Linked DNA regions of Homo sapiens: all the other regions are linked to region 6. Evidence: promoter capture Hi-C in 16 types of primary human blood cells and fetal thymus (Javierre and others, 2016). All regions are on one chromosome and are shown on one strand. Each heading gives the region's core, a stretch centred on a gene start or on the middle of the fragment in contact. The rest is flanking DNA. Distances are from core to core; before and after follow the strand shown. Region 1 overlaps ZNF605 (zinc finger protein 605). Region 2 overlaps CHFR (checkpoint with forkhead and ring finger domains). Region 3 overlaps ZNF605 (zinc finger protein 605). Region 4 has its middle 14 kb from the start of CHFR-DT. Region 5 overlaps ZNF26 (zinc finger protein 26). Region 6 holds the start of ZNF891 (zinc finger protein 891).

Region 1 (2,700 bases), core at 166-2,665, 210 kb after region 6:
TATAAAATCTCATCACTATTTCACAAGAATAAAATTCAAATCAGTTATATCCAAAGTAACTTTTCAACTGGGGGTGGTGTCTCACACCTGTAATCCCAGTGCTTGGGGAGGCCAAATTGGGAGGACCGCTTGAGCCCAGGCGTTTGAGACCAGCTGGACAACATAGCAAGACTCATCTCTACAAAAAAAAAATTTAATTAGCCATGAGAGGCTGGGTGCAGTGACGCAAGCCTGTAATCCCAGCACTTTGGGAGGCCGAGGTGGGTGGATCACCTGAGTTCAGGAGTTCGCGACCAGCCTGAATAACATGGTGAAACCCCGTCTCTACTAAATACAAAAAAATTAGCCGGGCATGGTGGCACATGCCTGTAATCCGAGCTACTTGGGAGGCTGAGACAAGAGAATCACTTGTACCTGGGAGGAGGAGGTTGCAGTGAGCCGAGATCACGGCATTGCACTCCAGTCTGGGCAACAAGAACAAAACTCCATCTCAAAAAAAAAGTTAGCCATGATGGTGCATGTCTGTAATCCCAGCTACTTGGGAAGCTGAGGCAGAAGGGTCACTTGAGCCCAGGAGTTCAAGGCTGCAGTGAGCCATGATGGGGCCACTGCATTCCAGCCTGAGTGACAGAGTGAAACCTTGCCTCTTAAATGAATAAAAATAAAGTAAGCTTTCTTCAACAAGTTTTCTTCCAACGCCACACACTCCATCACCATATTAATTTAAATTATTTAGTATGTAGCAGATTTACTTTGAGACCAAATCTGTGAAGTTGGTGATGATATTTAATAATTCTTTATTTCCCTTATGGGATCTTTGCAACTTAGAACACAATTATTACTCATTGTATCCGGGTCATTTAACATCTTGTCAGAATGCTAACATTAAATAAACCAGGCCAGGCGCGGTGGCTCACGCCTGTAATCCCAGCACTTTGGGAGGCCAAGGCGGGTGGATCACGAGGTCAGGAGATCGAGACCATCCTGGCTAACACGGTGAAACCCCGTCTCTACTAAAAATACAAAAAATTAGCCAGGTGAGGTGGCCAGCGCCTGTAGTCCCAGCTACTCAGGAGGCTGAGGCAGGAGAATGGCGTGAACCTGGGAGGTGGAGCTTGCAGTGAGCCAAGATCACACCACTGCACTCCAGCCTGGGTGATAGAGCGAGGCTCTGTCTCAAAAAAATAAATAAATCAGGCGCTGGGCGCGGTGGCTCACACCTGTAATCATAACACTTTGGGAGGCTAAGGCAGGCAGATCACAAGGTCAGGAGTTCGAGACCAGCCTGGCCAATATGGTGAAACCCCATCTCTACTAAAAATGCAAAAATTAGCCGGGCTTGGTGGCACGTGTGTAGTCCCAGCTACTCCGGAGGCTGAGGCAGGAGAATCGCTTGAACCCAGGAAGCCGATGTTGCAGTGAGCTGAGATCACACCACTGCACTCCAGCCTGGGTGACAGAGCAAGACTCCATCACACACACACACAAAAAAACAGGGAACACCAAACTTATTTAGTGATACCTAAATCTCGAAATGTGCACAGCAAAAAGAATGTAGCTATCGAGGCATTCACTGTTAAGATGAAAAGAAATGTAAGTGAAGGGACATTTATAACTTGAAGTTCTCATTTAAGAATTACTGGCCAGGGCCGGGCATGGTGGCTCATGCCTGTAATCTCAGCACTTTGGGAGGCCAAGATGGGTGGATCACGAGGTCAGGAGATTGAGACCATCCTGGCTAACAAGGTGAAACCCCGTCTCTACTAAAAATACAAAAAATTAGCCGCGCGTGGTGGCGGGCGCCTGTAGTCCCAGCTACTCGGGAGGCTGAGGCAGGAGAATGGCGTGAACCCGGGAGGCGGAGCTTGCAGTGAGCTGAGATCGCGCCACTGCACTCACTCTGGCCTGAGCGACAAAGCGAGACTCCATCTCAAAAAAAAAAAAAAAAAAAAAAAAGGCATTACTGGCCAGATGTGGTGGCTCATGCCTGCAATCCCAGGACTTTGGGAGGCCCAGCTGGGAGGAGAGGAGAGCTTGAGCCCAAGAGTTTGAGGCCAGCCTGGGCAACATAGTGGCACTTTGTTCTCCACAAAAATAATTAATAAAGCAAGTAAGCATTCCTATCACTAAAAGTACTTAAAAAAACAAATCAAGCTTAAACTTACAATAGGGGGTGGGAGAAGTGAATTAACTTTTTATTTTCATTAGTGCGTGCTCATGTGAAAGGAGCAGTTAGGCAATGGAGTGTTACCACTGCAGCCAGGCAGGTCTAGTGTAGATTCGTCCCCAAACCATGGTATTTGCCAGGCAGCTCTGAGGGTATGAACAAGGCATGTGCATTGTGTCCTGTTGTGTGTAATGCGTTTGTATGAAGCAGATTCTGTAAGAAGATGATGTTGGCTGAGATGTGGGCCAGCTGTACTTCACTGCTTCATTACAAGGGTAAGGCTGGCCAGGTGCGATGGCTCACGCCTGTCATCCCAGCACTTTGGGAGGCCAAGGTGGGTGGATCACTTGAGTTCAGGAGCTCAAGAGCAGCCTGGCCAACATGGCAAAACCCTATCTCTACTAAACATACAAAACAAAAAAAATAGCCGGGTGTGGTGGAGCACCTGTAAACCCAGCTGCTCGGGAGGCTGAGGTGGGCAAATCACATGAACCCAGGAGTTGGAGGTTGCAGTGAGCCAAGATGGCACCACC
Region 2 (2,840 bases), core at 39-2,538, 260 kb after region 6:
TTGTACAACTGAAGTACAGATTGAGTATCTGAAATGATTGAAACTAGACTGTTTAGATTTTGGATTGTTTCAGATTTTAGAATATTTTCATTATACTTACCAGTTGAGCATGTCTGAATCAAAATTCTGAAATGTTCCAGTGAGTATTTTTTTGAGTGTCTTGTTGGTGCTCAAAAAGTTTTGGATTTCACATTTCTGATTAGGGACATTCAGCTTAGGGATATTCAACTTGGAAAGTGGAAAGCTTTCCAAAATCCTATTCATACGTTAAAAATGCATATGTTGGTATATATATTTTGCATAAATGCAATCACACTACACATACTGTTGTAGCGTCAGCTTTTTTCTTTCTTTCTTTTTTTTTTTTGAGATGGAGTTTCACTGTGTTGCAGGCTGAAGTGCAGTGGTACGATCTCGGCTCACTGCGACCTCCGACTCCCAGGTTCCAGCCATTCTCCTGCCCCAGCCTCCCGAGTAGCTGGCATTGTAGGCACACACTACCAAGCCCGGCTATTTTTTTGTGTTTTTAGTAGAGACGGGATTTCACCATGCTGGCCAGGCTGGTCTCGAACTCCTGATCTCAGGTGATCTGCCTGCCTCAGCCTCCCAAAGTGCTGGGATTACAGGCGTGAGCCATCGCGCCCGGCCAGCTTTTTTCACTTACGGTGTTTTATGGAGCGCTTCACATGTCACTGCATCTACATCCAGCTCATCTTTTCATTATCTTAGGATAGTTTCTTTGTCACTTCCCTTATTGGTGGACATTTATTGTTTTGACTTTTTCTTACTATAAATAACACTGCAGTGACTCTTTCCCAAACTCTGCCTTCATGTCTGTTTTCTTGGGATGATTTCTCGGAAGGGAAGTCTGTGTCAGTGTTACTCAGAATGTGCCTATTCCTTTTTTTCTCTTTTTTGAGACGGAGTCTCGCTCTGTGGCTCAGGCTGAAGTGCTGTTGGTGCGATCTCGGCTCACTGCAACCTCCGCCACCCGGGTTCAAGCGATTCTCCTGCCTCAGCCTCCCGAGTAGCTGGGATTACAGGTGCCCGCCGCCACGCCTAGCTCAGATGGGGTTTCACAATGCTAGCCAGGCTGGACTTGAACTCCTGGCCTCAGGTGATCCACCTGCCTCAGCCTCCCCAAGTGCTGGGATTGCAAGTGTGAGCCCCCACACCCGGCCAGAATGTGCGTCTTTTAAATCTGCTGCAAGTGGCAGGTGGTCTTCTAGCAGTATGTTGAGAGTGTGCTGTTCTCACTGCAGGATTTTTTTTGTTTGGTAAAGATCAGGCTCTGTGAGATTCTTTGGTAACTGATAGTTTCAGGGATAGAAGACTAGGAAGTAGGTTTTAATAGGAAGAACTGATGCTCCGTTTCCTAGTCTAATAGATATCAGATTAAGTTCTCTATTTCTTGGCACAATGGGAAAGGCAGGGTGCTGGTCCCTAGCTGTCCCGCCTGCTTCAGGGCCTGGCTTCCCCATGCTGGGTGCTGGTCCTGGGCTTTCCTGCCTACATCAGGGCCTGGCTTCTCCACGCTGGGTGCTGGTCCTGGGCTTTCCCGCCTACATCAGGGCCTGGCTTCCCCGTGCTGGGTGCTGGTCCTGGGCTTTCCCGCCTACATCAGGGCCTGGCTTCCCCGCGCTGGGTGCTGGTCCTGGGCAGTCCCGCCTGTTCCAGGGCCTGGGTTCCCTGCACTGGGTGCTGGTCCTGGGCAGTCCCGCCTGTTCCAGGGCCTGGCTTCCCCACGCTGGGTGCTGGTCCTGGGTAGTCCCGCCTGTTCCAGGGCCTGGCTTCCCCGCGCTGGGTGCTGGTCCCGGGCCTTCCTGCCTGTTCCGGGGCCTGGCTTCCTCGCGCTGGGTGCTGGTCCCGGGCAGTCCCGCCTGTTCCGGGGCCTGGCTTCCCCGCGCTGGGTGCTGGTCCTGGGCAGTCCCGCCTGTTCTGGGGCCTGGCTTTCCCACGCTGGGTGCTGGTCCTGGGCAGTCCCGCCTGTTCCGGGGCCTGGCTTCCCCGCGCTGGGTGCTGGTCCTGGGCCTTCCCACCTGTTCCAGGGCCTGGTTTCCCTGTGCTGGGTGCTGGTCCTGGGCCTTCCCGCCTACATCAGGACCTGGCTTCCCCGCGCTGGGTGCTGGTCCTGGGCCTTTCTACCTGTTCCAGGGCCTGGCTTCCTTGCGCTGAATGCTGGTCCTGGGCCTCCCTGCCTGTTCCAGGGCCTGGCTTCCCCACGCTGGGTGCTGGTCCTGGGCCGTCCCGCCTGCTTCAGGGCATGGCATCCCTGTGCTGACTGCATGGTGGTGGTACTTTCTTATGGCTATTGTAATTTACCACAAGCTTAATGGATTTAAAAAACACAAATTTGCTGTCTTACTATAGTTATGGAGGTCCAGAGTCCGATATGGGTCTGATGGGGCTAAAATCCAGGTCTGAACAGGGCTGGTTTCTTCTGGAGGCTCCAGGGGAGAATTTGTTCTCTGCCTTTTCCAGGTTCCAGAGGTGCCACGTTCCTTGGCAGAGGTGGGCTGGAGGGGAGGGGTGCTCAGGCAGAAGGAACCACGTGTGTAGGGGCCCCTGAGCATAAGCAGGGCTGTGTGGTCGGAGCGTGTGGTGAGCGGCAAAGTCACACAAGGGAGCTTGGGCTTTAGCCTGAGAGCAGTGAGGAGTCATCAAAGGGGTGTAAGCGGAGGAGTGAAATAATCAGATTTTTGTTTGGAAAGAACAGGAGGATGAGTGATGGCTGCAGTCGCCCCTCGGCATCTGGGGGGATTGGCTCCAGCCCCCTGCATGCACCCAAGTCCGTGCACACTCTAGCCCCGTAGCCAGCCCTGTGGAGCAGGAGGACACAG
Region 3 (2,717 bases), core at 84-2,583, 190 kb after region 6:
CTCGCGGTGAGTGTTACAGCTCTTCGGGTGGCGCGTCTGGAGTCTGTCCCTTCTGATGTTCAGCTGTGTTCGGAGTTTCTTCCTTCTGGTGGGTTCGTGGTCTCGCTGGCTCAGGAGTGAAGCTGCAGACCTTCGCGGTGAGTGTTACAGCTCTTAAGGTAGTGCGTCTGGAGTGTTCGTTCCTCCCGGTGGGCTCGTGGTCTCGCTGGCTCAGGAGTGAAGCTGCAGATCTTCGCGGTGAGTGTTACAGCTCATAAAAGCAGCGTGGACCCAAAGAGTGAGCAGTAGCAAGATTTATTGCAAAGAGCGAAAGAACAAAGCCTGCACAGTGTGGAAGAGGACCCGAGCGGGTTGCCACTGCTGGCTCGGGCAGCCTGCTTTTATTCTCCTATCTGGCCCCACCCACATCCTGCTGATTGGTAGAGCCGAGTGGCCTGTTTTGTCAGGGCGCTGATTGGTGCGTTTACAATCCCTGAGCTAGATACAAAGGTTCTCCACGTCCCCATCAGATTAGTTAGATACAGAGTTTCCACACACAGGTTCTCCAAGGCCCCACCAGAGCAGCTAGATACAGAGTGTCAATTGGTGCATTCACAAACCTTGAGCAAAACACAGGGTGCTGATTGGTGTGTTTACAAACCTTGAGCTAGATACAGAGTGCCGATTGGTGTATTTACAATCCTTGAGCTAGACATAAAGGTTCTCCATGTCCTCACCAGCAGCTAGATACAGAGTGTTGATTGGTGCACTCACAAACCTTGAGCTAAACACAGGGTGCTGATTGGTGTATTTACAATCCCTGAGCTAGATATAAAGACTCTCCACGTCCCCACCAGACTCAGGAGCCCAGCTGGCTTCACCTAGTGGATCCCGCACCGGGGCTGCAGGTGGAGCTGCCTGCCAGTCCTGCGCTGTGCGCTCGCATTCCTCAGCCCTTGGGTGGTCGATGGGACTGGGCGCCGTGGAGCAGGGGGTGGTGCTCGTCAGGGAGGCTGGGGCCGCATGGGAGCCCATGGAGTGGGTGGGAGGCTCAGGCATGGTGGGCTGCAGGTGCCCAGCCCTGCCCCGCGGGGAGGCAGCTAAGGCTCGGTGAGAAATCGAGCGCAGCGCCGGTGGGCCAGCACTGCTGGGGGACCCAGTACACCCTCCGCAGCCACTGGCCCGGGTGCTAAGTCCCCCATTGCCCGGGGCCAGCAGGGCTGGCTGGCTGCTCCGAGTGCGGCGCCCACCAAGCCCACGCCCACCCGGAACTCCAGCTGGCCCGCAAGCGCCGCACACAGCCCCGGTTCCCGCTCGTGCCTCTCCCTCCACACCTCCCTGCAAGCTGAGGGAGTGGGCTCCAGCCTTGGCCAGCCCAGAAAGGGGCTCCCACAGTGCAGTGGGGGACTGAAGGGCTCCTCAAATGCCACCAAAGTGGGAGCCCAGGCAGGGGAGGTGCCGAGAACAAGCGAGGGCTCTGAGGACTGCCAGCACGCTGTCACCTCTCACCAGCACTTCGGGAGGCTGAGGCGGGCAAATCACCTGAGGTCGGGAGTTCGAGACCAGCCTGACCAACATGTAGAAACCCCGTCACTACTAAAAATACAAAAATTAGCAGGGTGTGGTGGCGTGTGCCTGTAATCCCAGCTACTCGGGAGGCTGAGGCAGGAGAATCGCTAGAACCCAGGAGGCAGAGGTTGCAGTGAGTCGAGATCGTGCCACTTCACCCCAGCCTGGGCAACAGAGTGAGATTCTGTCTCAAAAAAATAAAAAATAAAAATAAAAAAATAAATGGGATCGGCCTGGCACAGTGGCTCTTGCCTGTAATCCCAGCACTTTGGGAGGCCGAGGCAGGTGGATCACAAGGTCAGGAGATTGAGATCATCCAGGCTAACAGGGTGAAACCCCGTCTCTACTAAAAATACAAAAAGTTAGCCGGGCGTAGTGGCAGGCGCCTGTAGTCCCAGCTACTTGGGAGGCTGAGGCAGGAGAATGGCGTGAACCCAGGAGGCGGGGCTTGCCATGAGCCGAGATCGCGCCACTGCACTCCAGCCTGGGCGACAGAGCGAGACTCCCTCTCAAATAAATAATAAATAAATAAATAAATGGGATCACATATGTGACCTTTTGACAGTGGCTTTTCTCACTTAGCATACCTTTGAGATTCATTCATATCTTATCGGTAGTTTCTTCCTTTTTCTTGGCGTGTGATTCCCTTGAATATGATCCCATGTATGGATGGGCCACAGTCTCTATCCATTCACTTATTGAAGGACATCTTAATTGTTCCACTTTTTAGCAGTTTTGAATAAAGCATTCATCTGCATATAGGTTTGAATATAAATTTTCAGGTGAATGTAAGTTTTCAGTTCACTACTTGAGTAAACACCTAGGAGTGGAATTGCTGCGTTGTGTGGTAAGTCTGTGTTCAACTTTATAAGAAACTGCCAAAATGTTTTCAAAAGCTGCTGTACATTTTACATTCCCACCACAATGAATGACAGTTGCTCTTGCTCTGAGTCCTCACAGATATTTGTCAGGGGTGTGTGTGTGTGTGTGTGTCTGTGTGTGTGTGTGTTTAGTTTTAGCCTTCTAATAAGTACATAGTAGTTTTTCATTATAGTTTTAATTTGCATTCACCTTTTGACAGATATATTGAACATCTTTTCATATATTTACTTTCCATCCATACATTTTCTTTTTTTTTTTTTTTTTTTTTGAGACAGAGTTTCATTCTT
Region 4 (2,890 bases), core at 201-2,700, 230 kb after region 6:
CGGTCATTAGATCGAGACCATCCTGGCTAACACGGTGAAACCCCGTCCCTACTAAAAATACAAAAATTAGCCGGGCGTGGTGGCACGCGCCTGTAGTCCCAGCTACTCGGGAGGCTGAGGCAGGAGAATTGCTTAAACCCAGAAGGCAGAGGTTGCAGTCAGCCGAGATTGCGCCATTGCACTCCAGCCTGGGCAACAGAGCAAGACTCTGTCTCAAAATAAAAAATAATAAAATAGAATAAAAATCATTATTTCCACTTAAAATAGTTCATAGCGGCTGGGCACAGTGGCTCACACCAGTAATCCCAGCACTTTGGGAGGCCAAGGCAGGCAGATCACCTGAGGTCAGGAGTTCAAGACCAGCCTGGCCAACATGGTGAAACCCTGTCTCTACTAAAAATACAAAAAAAAGCAGCTGGGTATGGTGGTGCATGCCAGTAGTCCCAGCTACTAGGGAGGCTGAGGCAGGAGAATCGCTTGAACCCGGGAGGCAGAGGTTGCAGTGATCCCAGATCCCGCCACTGCACTCCAGCCTGGGCAATAGAATGAGACTCCATCTCAAAAAAAAAAAAAAAGTTCATATCAAAAGGAAAATATAGGCTGCTCTGCCTGTGGAGTAGCTATTCTTTTGTTTCTTTACATCTCTAATAAACTTGCTTTCACTTACAAAAAAAAAAAAAAAAAAAAAAGGAAAATCCTAGCACTCTGGGAAGCTGAGGCAGGCAGATCACCTAAGGTCAGGAGTTCGAGACCAGAATACAAAAATTAGCCGGGTGTGGTGGTGCATGCCTGTAATCCCAGCTACTCAGGAGGCTGAGACAGGAGAGTTGCTTGAAACTGGGAAGCGGAAGAGGTTGCAGTGAGCCGAGATCATGCCACTGCACTCCAGCCTGGGCAACAGAGCAAGACTCCATCTCAAAAAAAAAAAAAAAAGGGCTGGGCACGGTGGCTCATGCCTGTAATCCCAGCAGTTTGGGAGGCCAAGGCAGGCAGATCACCTGAGGTCAGGAGTTCGAGCCCAGCCTGGCCAACATGGAGAAACCCTGTCTCTACTAAAAATATAAAATTAACTGGGTGTGGTGGCACATGCCTGTAATCCGAGCTACTGGGGATGCTAAGGCAGGAGAATCGCTTGAACCAGGGAGGTGGAGGTTGTGGTGAGCCGAGATTGCGCCACTGCACTCCAGCCTGGGCAACAGTAGCGAAACTCTGTCTCAAAAAAAAAAAAAAAGAAAATGTAAAAGGTAATTTTACTTTTCTGGTTTTAATAGAAGCAAATTCCTCAGTAATCTTTTTTTTTTTTTTTTTGAGACAGAGTCTCTCGCTCTGTACCCAGGCTGGAGTGCAGTGGCCGATCTCGGCTCACTGCAGCCTGCGCCTCCCGGGTTCAAGCAATTCTCCTGCCTCAGCCTCCCGAGTAGCTAGGACTACAGGAGTGCGCTGCCACATCTGGCTAATTTTTGTATTTTTTAGTAGAGACAAGGTTTCATCAGGTCGGGCAGGATGGTCTTGATCTCCTGACCTTGTGATCTGCCCATCCCAGCCTCCCAAAGTGCTGGGATTACAGGCATGAGCCACCGCACCCAGCCCATCAGTAATCTTTTAAAAATGTACTTATTAGCTCACTTCATTTTCACTTAAGAGAATTTCCATGTTTGATAATTTTTTATGACTCACTGACTATCTCAAAAGGTTTTCTGTGGCCAGGTGTGGTGGCTCACGCCTGTAATCCCAGCACTTTGGGAGGCCGAGACTAGCGGATCACCTGAGGTCAGGAGTTGGAGACCAGCCGGGCCAAGATGGCAAAACCCCATCTCTACTAAATATACAAAAATTAGTTGGGCCTGGTGGTGGGCACCTGTAATCTCAGGTACTCAGGAGGCTGAGGCGGGGGAGAATTGCTTGAACCCTGGAGACAGAGGTTGCAGTGAGCCGAGATTGTGCCACTGCACTCCATCCTAGGTGACAGAGTGAGACTCTGTCTCAAAAACAAATAAATAAATAAATAAATGGGTTTTTTTTGTTTGTTTTTTGAGACAGGGTCTCACTCTGTTGCCCAGGCTGGAGTCCAGTGGTGCTATCATGGCTCATTGCAGCCTCCACCTCCCGGGCTCAAGCAATCCTCCCACCTTAGCCTCCTACATTAGCCTCCCTAGTACAGGTGTGCATCACCACATCCGGCTAATTTTTTGTATTTTTGGTGGAGACGGGGTTTCACCATGTTGGCCAGGCTGGTCTCGAACTCCTGAGCTCAGGCAATCCACCCACCTTGGCTTCCCAAAGTGATGGGATGACAGGCTTGAGCTCCCAGCCAGCTGCTAGTTTTGAGTGGGGCCCAGAACAAGTGAAGGCTCTGCAACAGATGCAGGCTGTTGTGCAAGGTGCTCTACCACTTGGTCACATGACCCAGCAGATCCAATGGTGCTTGACATGTCAGTGGCAGAGAGCGATGCTGGGTGGAGCCTTGGCAGGCCCGCATAGGAGAATCACAATGTAGACTTTTAGGATTTTGGTGCAAAGCCCTGACATTGTCTGCAGATAATTACTCTTCTTTTTTTTTTTTTTTTTTTTTTTGACTTCAACGTTTTATAACAATAGAGAGTAGCTGAAAATACTACATGCTAACACAGACAATATGATACACAACCTCGGGGGACAAGTTGGCAGGGAGCACGTGGCAGAGGCCACAGGTTTAGACTAAGAGCCTTTTGATGGACTGCTGAATGGATTGGATCTGCTGTTTCAGCTGTGAGCCTTCTTTGATGGTGACAGAACAGGTGATGACAGGCCTGGAGACCCCACAGGCTCTTCCCAGGGCCTGCTTGGAGCGCACAAATATGAAGGGCACGTTCTTGTCTTCACACAGCAGTGGAGGTGCGGAATGATCTCC
Region 5 (2,786 bases), core at 37-2,536, 130 kb after region 6:
AAAAAAAAAAAAAAAGAAAAGGGAACTACATAAACAGAAGCCAATATGATATTTTGATAAATTTTTAATAAACAGTAAGCCAAAAATCTGGTAACTGACTTCCGTGAGCAAAAGCTCTCCCAGAGGTAAGCTGATGCACAGCAAACCATCTCTCCCACAGAAGCCCCAAAAGCTTTGGGAACAGTCATCCTGCATGATGAGAATGAGGTGTGAACTGTAAACAGCTAAAAGCAGTATATGAATTAGGCTCCCAGGTCCCACCCACCTAGGGTCTCCAGGGTGGGTGTTACTCAGCCAACACATGACTACCTAACATGCCAGGGGTGCTAGGTACTCTTAACAAAATCCAGGCTGGGCATGGTGATTCACACCTGTAATCCCAGCACTTTGGGAGGCCAAGGCGGGTGGATCACCTGAGGTCAGGAGTTCGAGACCAGCCTGGCCAATATGGTGAGACTCTGTCTCTATTAAAAACACAAAAATTAGCCAGGCATGCTGGTGTACACCTGCAACCCCAGCTACTCAGGAGGCTGAGACAGGAGAATCGCTTGAACCCATGAGGTGGAGGTTGCAGTGAGTAGAAATCGCACCACTGCACTCCAGCCTGGGCGACACAGAAGACTACATCTCAAAACAAAAAAACAAAAAACAAACAAAAAATCCAAGCAGGTAAGGGACAGAGTCATGAGACAGAGGGAGGCACAGGTGCTGTTTCAGACACGGTGATCAGGGCAGCTCTCTGATGAGGTTATACCTAGGCAGAAATGCAAGCGCTGTGAGAAGCCACTGAAAGGCTTCTCGCTCTGACTGGTATTTTGAGATCATCCTGACTGCTGTGGAAGAGGGAGGGGGTTGTGTAAGAGGAGATACCGGGGAGACCAGTTAGAAGGCAACTGTGTTAGTCCAGTGGAAGAAGGCAGTGTAGGCCAAAGTGACAGCGATGGGGATGATAAATGGTGGCTGGATTCTGGGCATCCTGTGGGGACAGAGCCAGAACACAACCTGATAGAGACAGCATGGCACGCTGAGAGACAGAAGGGGGGCCAGGAGGACACCAAGCAGCCTGGCCAAGCAAACTACAGAACTTTCCCTTTAAGGAGGTGGAGAAGCCTGGGGATAACAAACGGAGAAAGAAGATAGTGAATAACTGGTCCATGAATGACGGAAGATGGGGGAGATCCAACCAGAAAACAGTCCACAGAAGTGAGTCACTGAAGGAGAAAAGTGACCTTGCTAAGAACACGTGAGAAGAAAGGGAAGCGGGTATCCATCCTCTCAAACAGGAGGGGCTCTAAGAAAAGGGGACTGTGCAAGTGCCCCACACACAACCTGGACATCTGCAACAGCCGACCAGGCTAAATCTGGGTAATTTTCAGAAGGAACTGACATGTACTTAAGAATTTAAGTAAACAAGGATCGAATAACTGCTTTCCTCTGAAAAATTCTGAAGGCAAAGACTGCCGCGGGACTCTCAAAAGGCAGCTGGGGAGTGAGGGTTCAGCAGCTCACCTCAAACAGGGCCCCGCCTCCCTGCGGCTCACCTCAGGCAGGGCACTGTTTCCCTGGGCCCAAGGAACACCCAGAAGATTCCCGAACTTGACACTTGAGCTCATTAGCAGGCTCCTCCTCAGCAGCACTACCTGCAGGGAGGGAGACCCCAGGGGAAGAGGCAGTGAGTGGACTTCTGGGTGAGTCTGCATGCAGTGAGAGAAAGAATCACATACACCATGGAACTGCAGGGCAGAGCCCTGTCAGAGGCTCCAACCAAGCCCCACTGATGCCTGTCATAACTCTGGGTACTGACCACCGCACAACAGGAGACTCTGTGTCTTTTTCTCTAACCACTGATTTTCCCACCCCAACCCAGAAGGAGCCCCCGTCGGAGGGCAACAAGTAAATGAAGTGGGAATACAGACAAGCCTCCTCCATCTCCCCTCTGCAGGCTAGAATGAGGGGAGGTACAAGAGCTTGGAGTGAGAGTGTGGACTGAACTTTCCCATACCTGAAAGTAACTGAGAGTCAATAACAAACAAGGCTGTGACCAGAGCATCATCAGCTCTCCTCACGACGAGCACTAGGGAAGGGCTGACAGGAAGCCTGAGGCTGTGATGAGAAAAATGAAGCCACTACTGTGCCCTTATTACGTTGAGGTGCTTATCAAGCTGGTTACTTTAAATCTGAGGGAGAAGAAACATGAAACAAGTCACTTCGATGTGACCATATTAGAAGCTGGAGGTCGACAGCAGAAGACGAAACGGAGCCCAAAGTGGCTGCTTCTGGGGACACAGGATGGAAGAGGGAAGGTGCACAGCAGATAGCAGGTAGACCAGGAGCAGCGGGTAGACCAGGAGGCTTATTGTCTATTTTATTTAAAGCCTTTTACTATTTCTTTAAGCTTGATACGAATGAAAACAGGCCAGGCATGGTAGTTCACGCCTGTAATCCCAGCACTTTGGGAGGCAGAGGTGGGTGGATCACCTGCAATCAGGAGTTCAAGACCAGCCTGGCCAACATAGTGAAACCCTATCCTACTAAAAATACAAAAATTAGGCCGGGCACAGTGGCTCACACCTGTAATCCTAGCACTTTGGGAGGCCAAGGTGGGCGGATCACGAGGTCAGGAGATCGAGACCATCCTGGCTAACATGGTGAAACCCTGTCTCTACAGAAAATACAAAAAATTAGCTGGGTGTGGTGGCGGGCGCCTGTAGTCCCAGCTACTCGGGAGGCTGAGGCAGGAGAATGGCGTGAACCCTGGAGGCGGAGCTTGCAGTGAGCCAAGATCG
Region 6 (2,762 bases), core at 30-2,529:
TCTAACCTAATAACACTTGTTGGCTGGCATTCTGGGTGACATCCTGCCTTCCCTTTTACTTTTTTTTTTTTAATTAACAGTATCTTTCTGCAATTAATGTATAGCTGGAATTGAAATTGTTCACCTTCTGCATACACTTTGGGTGGGATCTACGTACGAAATCTTGATGTTAACCTTATCTTTGACACTCATATTATGTGTTAGATGGCGTATATATATCTAGTGTCAAGGGAAAATAAAAATATAGTAATTAAACTTATGATCTGTCTCTGAAAATAAAAAAAATAGATTAACCACACAAACACGCCTTCAGTTAATCTATCTGATTAAAAAACAAAACAAAGATGAGGAAGCTAAGAGCTAGAGATGCAGGATTTGTTTTTAAAAGACCACACACGAATCGGCGTCACTATTTCAACAAATACTAGAAAGGCCATATGCAAAATTTTAAACATCTATCCCAGCTGGGGGGAAAAATGGAAGTTAGACTAGAAGAAACCTTATTTTGTATTACTGAAAATATCTGGTTCAAACTTACCACCACCGCCGCCCACTCTGCGTCAATCTCCAGGTGCAGCCGTTATTCTCCACAGAACAAGAACGTCCGCCGTGAACGCCGGGGCCGCGCGAGGGACAGAAAGTGACTGAGGCAAGGGGTGACGATCACCGTTAAATTTTTTCATTGACGAAATTACCGTCTACCTAGAAATACGAAGCTAATACACTGCTACATTACTAAAGGGCTCAACACGCGCCTGATGACGATGCAAACACAAAATTCAGCACTTTCGTATATACCTGCAATAAGCAACTAGAAGGTTCGATGGGAGAAAGCGATCCCGTCACAAAGGCAGCAGCAACAGCAAAACAGAGAACGCGACTCCATTCACCAGCGGAGCGCGAAGAGCGGCGTCAGAGGTGAGTCTGAGGCCGGCTCGGCACGGCGGCGCCACCTCCCCGTGGCCTGACGTCACGCACGCGCACGCGCCCCGCCCCCATTGGTCCTACGCCCGCCCCTGCTGCGAACGCACGCACACGCACCCACAACACACACCGTTACGCACGCGCCCCAGCCTGGCGTTCAGGCCACGCTCCGCCCCCAGCCCGTCAGCCGCGCGCCCCGGGACCCTAGAGCCGGCGATTCGTCGCCGGCGCCGCAGCCGCCACTCTGTGCCGGACCCTGCGGGCCTTCGGCCCAGAGCGCGTCCGTGACGCACAGACCAGGCCCCTCTGCGGGGCGGCGCAGGAGCTCCTGGGAAACGTAGTTCGGCCTCGCGTCCCCCTCGGGCGGGACCGCGGACGCCTGGAGGCAGGCACTGAGGACGGGTGAGCATGCGGGCCTGTGGCTCGTTCACCCGGGACAAGTCCCTCGTGGGATCAGCCTGGCCCGCTGAGTTCTCCTGCGTGCAGGGATCGCCTCACGGGAGTCTGAGCAGCAGGGAGCCTGCCCGGGAGGCGGCGGTGGGAGAGGCCCTTGAGGGAGGAGGGGCTACTTACCGGGTGCGAGTGGAGCGCGGGGAGCGAGTGGGGACCAGGGGCGCGCGGGGCGGAGGGGTCCCGGGCTGGCTGCGGGTGCCACGCAGGGAGCGCTGGGGGGCCGGGGATGCGCGTTTGCCTCCTTCTCTAAGCAACACGGGAGGGCTAAAGGGTGCACGCCTCTGTCCAGCAGCCTCTCTTGAATCTCTAAACCTAGTAATGAGTTGAATCACAGCCATCGTTTTTTTCACCTATTGCCTTATACTGTGGTTGAATGCGATATGGTTTTATTTCTTTAATACTCTGGTGTATTCAATTGGCTGTTTCCCTTTGACTTCACCTATGCTCACAAGATTGTGTTTTAATCTTTTTGTGTACTATCCTTGCCCGTTATACTAACAAGATTTTACAAGCTTCATGAATAATTTGGACAGCACAGTCTCTCTTCTATTCTGTAAAACAGGTCACCACCCCTCACCGCCCCCCGCCCGCCTCCAAAAGTTTGGTGCTATTTGGTCTTAAAATATTTAGTACGCATTTAACTTCTGACTCAATTTTTTTTTTTTTTTTTTTTGAGACAGAGTTTCGCTCTTTGTTGCCCAGGCTGGAGTGCAATGGCGCCATCTTGGCTCACAGCAACCTCCGCCTCCCGGGTTCAAGTGATTCTTCTGCCTCAGTCTTGTGAGTTGCCGGGATTACAGACATGAGCCACCACGCCCAGCTAATTCTGTATTTTTAGTGGAGATGGGGTTTCTCCATGTTGGTCAGGCTGGTCTGGAACTCCCGACCTCAGGTGATCAGCCTGCCTCGGCCTCCCAAAGCGCTGAGATTACAAGCGTGAGCCACCGCACCCGGCCCTGACTCAATTTTTTAAAAAGTCTCATTGATTAGGTTTTTTAGTTCGTATTCTGTTTTAGATACCTTTCCTAGATAATTGTTTTTAATCTAATTTTTCAAATTTATTGGCATAAAATTGCCCATGCTATTTTATCACTGTAAGTAATTTCTATGGTGATTTTTAAAATCACCACTTTTTAATATTTTACTGCTGTAATTGTTATTTTTTTCTTTTTTGAACCTAATTATCTAGGCCTTTTTTTCTTGATTACTCCTATAAGGTATATGTGTACATAGTCTTTTCAAAAATGTAGATTTGGTTTTGGTTTTTTTGTTGTTTTGTTTTGGTCTTTTTTGGGGAGGGGGGTCCTATTACAGTAAGTTTTGCTCTTAATTTTTAAATTTTTCTTTTACTTTGTCTCTGTTTTTCTACTTTTTTTTTTTTTTCG

The links. The method cuts DNA at HindIII sites, captures the fragments that hold promoters and counts their contacts. A CHiCAGO score of 5 or more calls a contact.
Region 1: a contact is called between a fragment that was not itself captured here and the fragment with the promoter of ZNF891 in region 6, in 17 of 17 cell types (M1 macrophages, M2 macrophages, erythroblasts and 14 more). The highest score is 19.7, in M1 macrophages.
Region 2: a fragment that was not itself captured here is called in contact with the fragment with the promoter of ZNF891 in region 6 in 2 of 17 cell types (monocytes and neutrophils); the score reaches 6.7 in monocytes.
Region 3: a fragment that was not itself captured here is called in contact with the fragment with the promoter of ZNF891 in region 6 in 13 of 17 cell types (erythroblasts, M1 macrophages, M0 macrophages and 10 more); the score reaches 11.6 in erythroblasts.
Region 4: a fragment that was not itself captured here is called in contact with the fragment with the promoter of ZNF891 in region 6 in 1 of 17 cell types (M1 macrophages); the score reaches 5.4 in M1 macrophages.
Region 5: a contact is called between a fragment that was not itself captured here and the fragment with the promoter of ZNF891 in region 6, in 10 of 17 cell types (non-activated CD4 T cells, total CD8 T cells, M2 macrophages and 7 more). The highest score is 9.0, in non-activated CD4 T cells.

What each region holds. Positions count from the first base shown.
Region 1 is chr12:132,918,636-132,921,335 of GRCh38, reverse strand. It overlaps ZNF605 (zinc finger protein 605), which reads left to right. Exons shown (of 5, transcript NM_183238.4): 5 at 1-2,700. Among named protein-coding and RNA genes, the nearest start is that of CHFR-DT, 32 kb to the right of the region's middle. The HindIII fragment of the contact is 1,483 bases long and covers 674-2,156 here.
Region 2 is chr12:132,873,701-132,876,540 of GRCh38, reverse strand. All of the region lies in intron 3 of CHFR (checkpoint with forkhead and ring finger domains), which reads left to right. Among named protein-coding and RNA genes, the nearest start is that of CHFR, 12 kb to the left of the region's middle. RefSeq lists enhancers at 1,265-1,960, 1,961-2,656, 2,657-2,840. The HindIII fragment of the contact is 2,084 bases long and covers 247-2,330 here.
Region 3 is chr12:132,937,341-132,940,057 of GRCh38, reverse strand. The region is part of intron 3 of ZNF605 (zinc finger protein 605); the gene reads left to right. Among named protein-coding and RNA genes, the nearest start is that of ZNF605, 18 kb to the left of the region's middle. The HindIII fragment of the contact is 7,051 bases long and covers 1-2,717 here.
Region 4 is chr12:132,900,174-132,903,063 of GRCh38, reverse strand. It overlaps the pseudogene LOC647503. Among named protein-coding and RNA genes, the nearest start is that of CHFR-DT, 14 kb to the right of the region's middle. RefSeq lists a cis regulatory region at 1,221 and an enhancer at 1,137-1,306. The HindIII fragment of the contact is 6,341 bases long and covers 1-2,890 here.
Region 5 is chr12:133,000,487-133,003,272 of GRCh38, reverse strand. All of the region lies in intron 1 of ZNF26 (zinc finger protein 26), which reads right to left. Among named protein-coding and RNA genes, the nearest start is that of ZNF26, 16 kb to the right of the region's middle. The HindIII fragment of the contact is 2,223 bases long and covers 175-2,397 here.
Region 6 is chr12:133,128,791-133,131,552 of GRCh38, reverse strand. It overlaps ZNF891 (zinc finger protein 891), which reads left to right and starts at 1,279. Exons shown (of 2, transcript NM_001277291.2): 1 at 1,279-1,326. It overlaps ZNF10 (zinc finger protein 10), which reads right to left and starts at 926. Exons shown (of 5, transcript NM_015394.5): 1 at 799-926. RefSeq lists an enhancer at 544-823 and silencers at 874-1,113, 1,484-1,663. The HindIII fragment of the contact is 7,004 bases long and covers 1-1,891 here.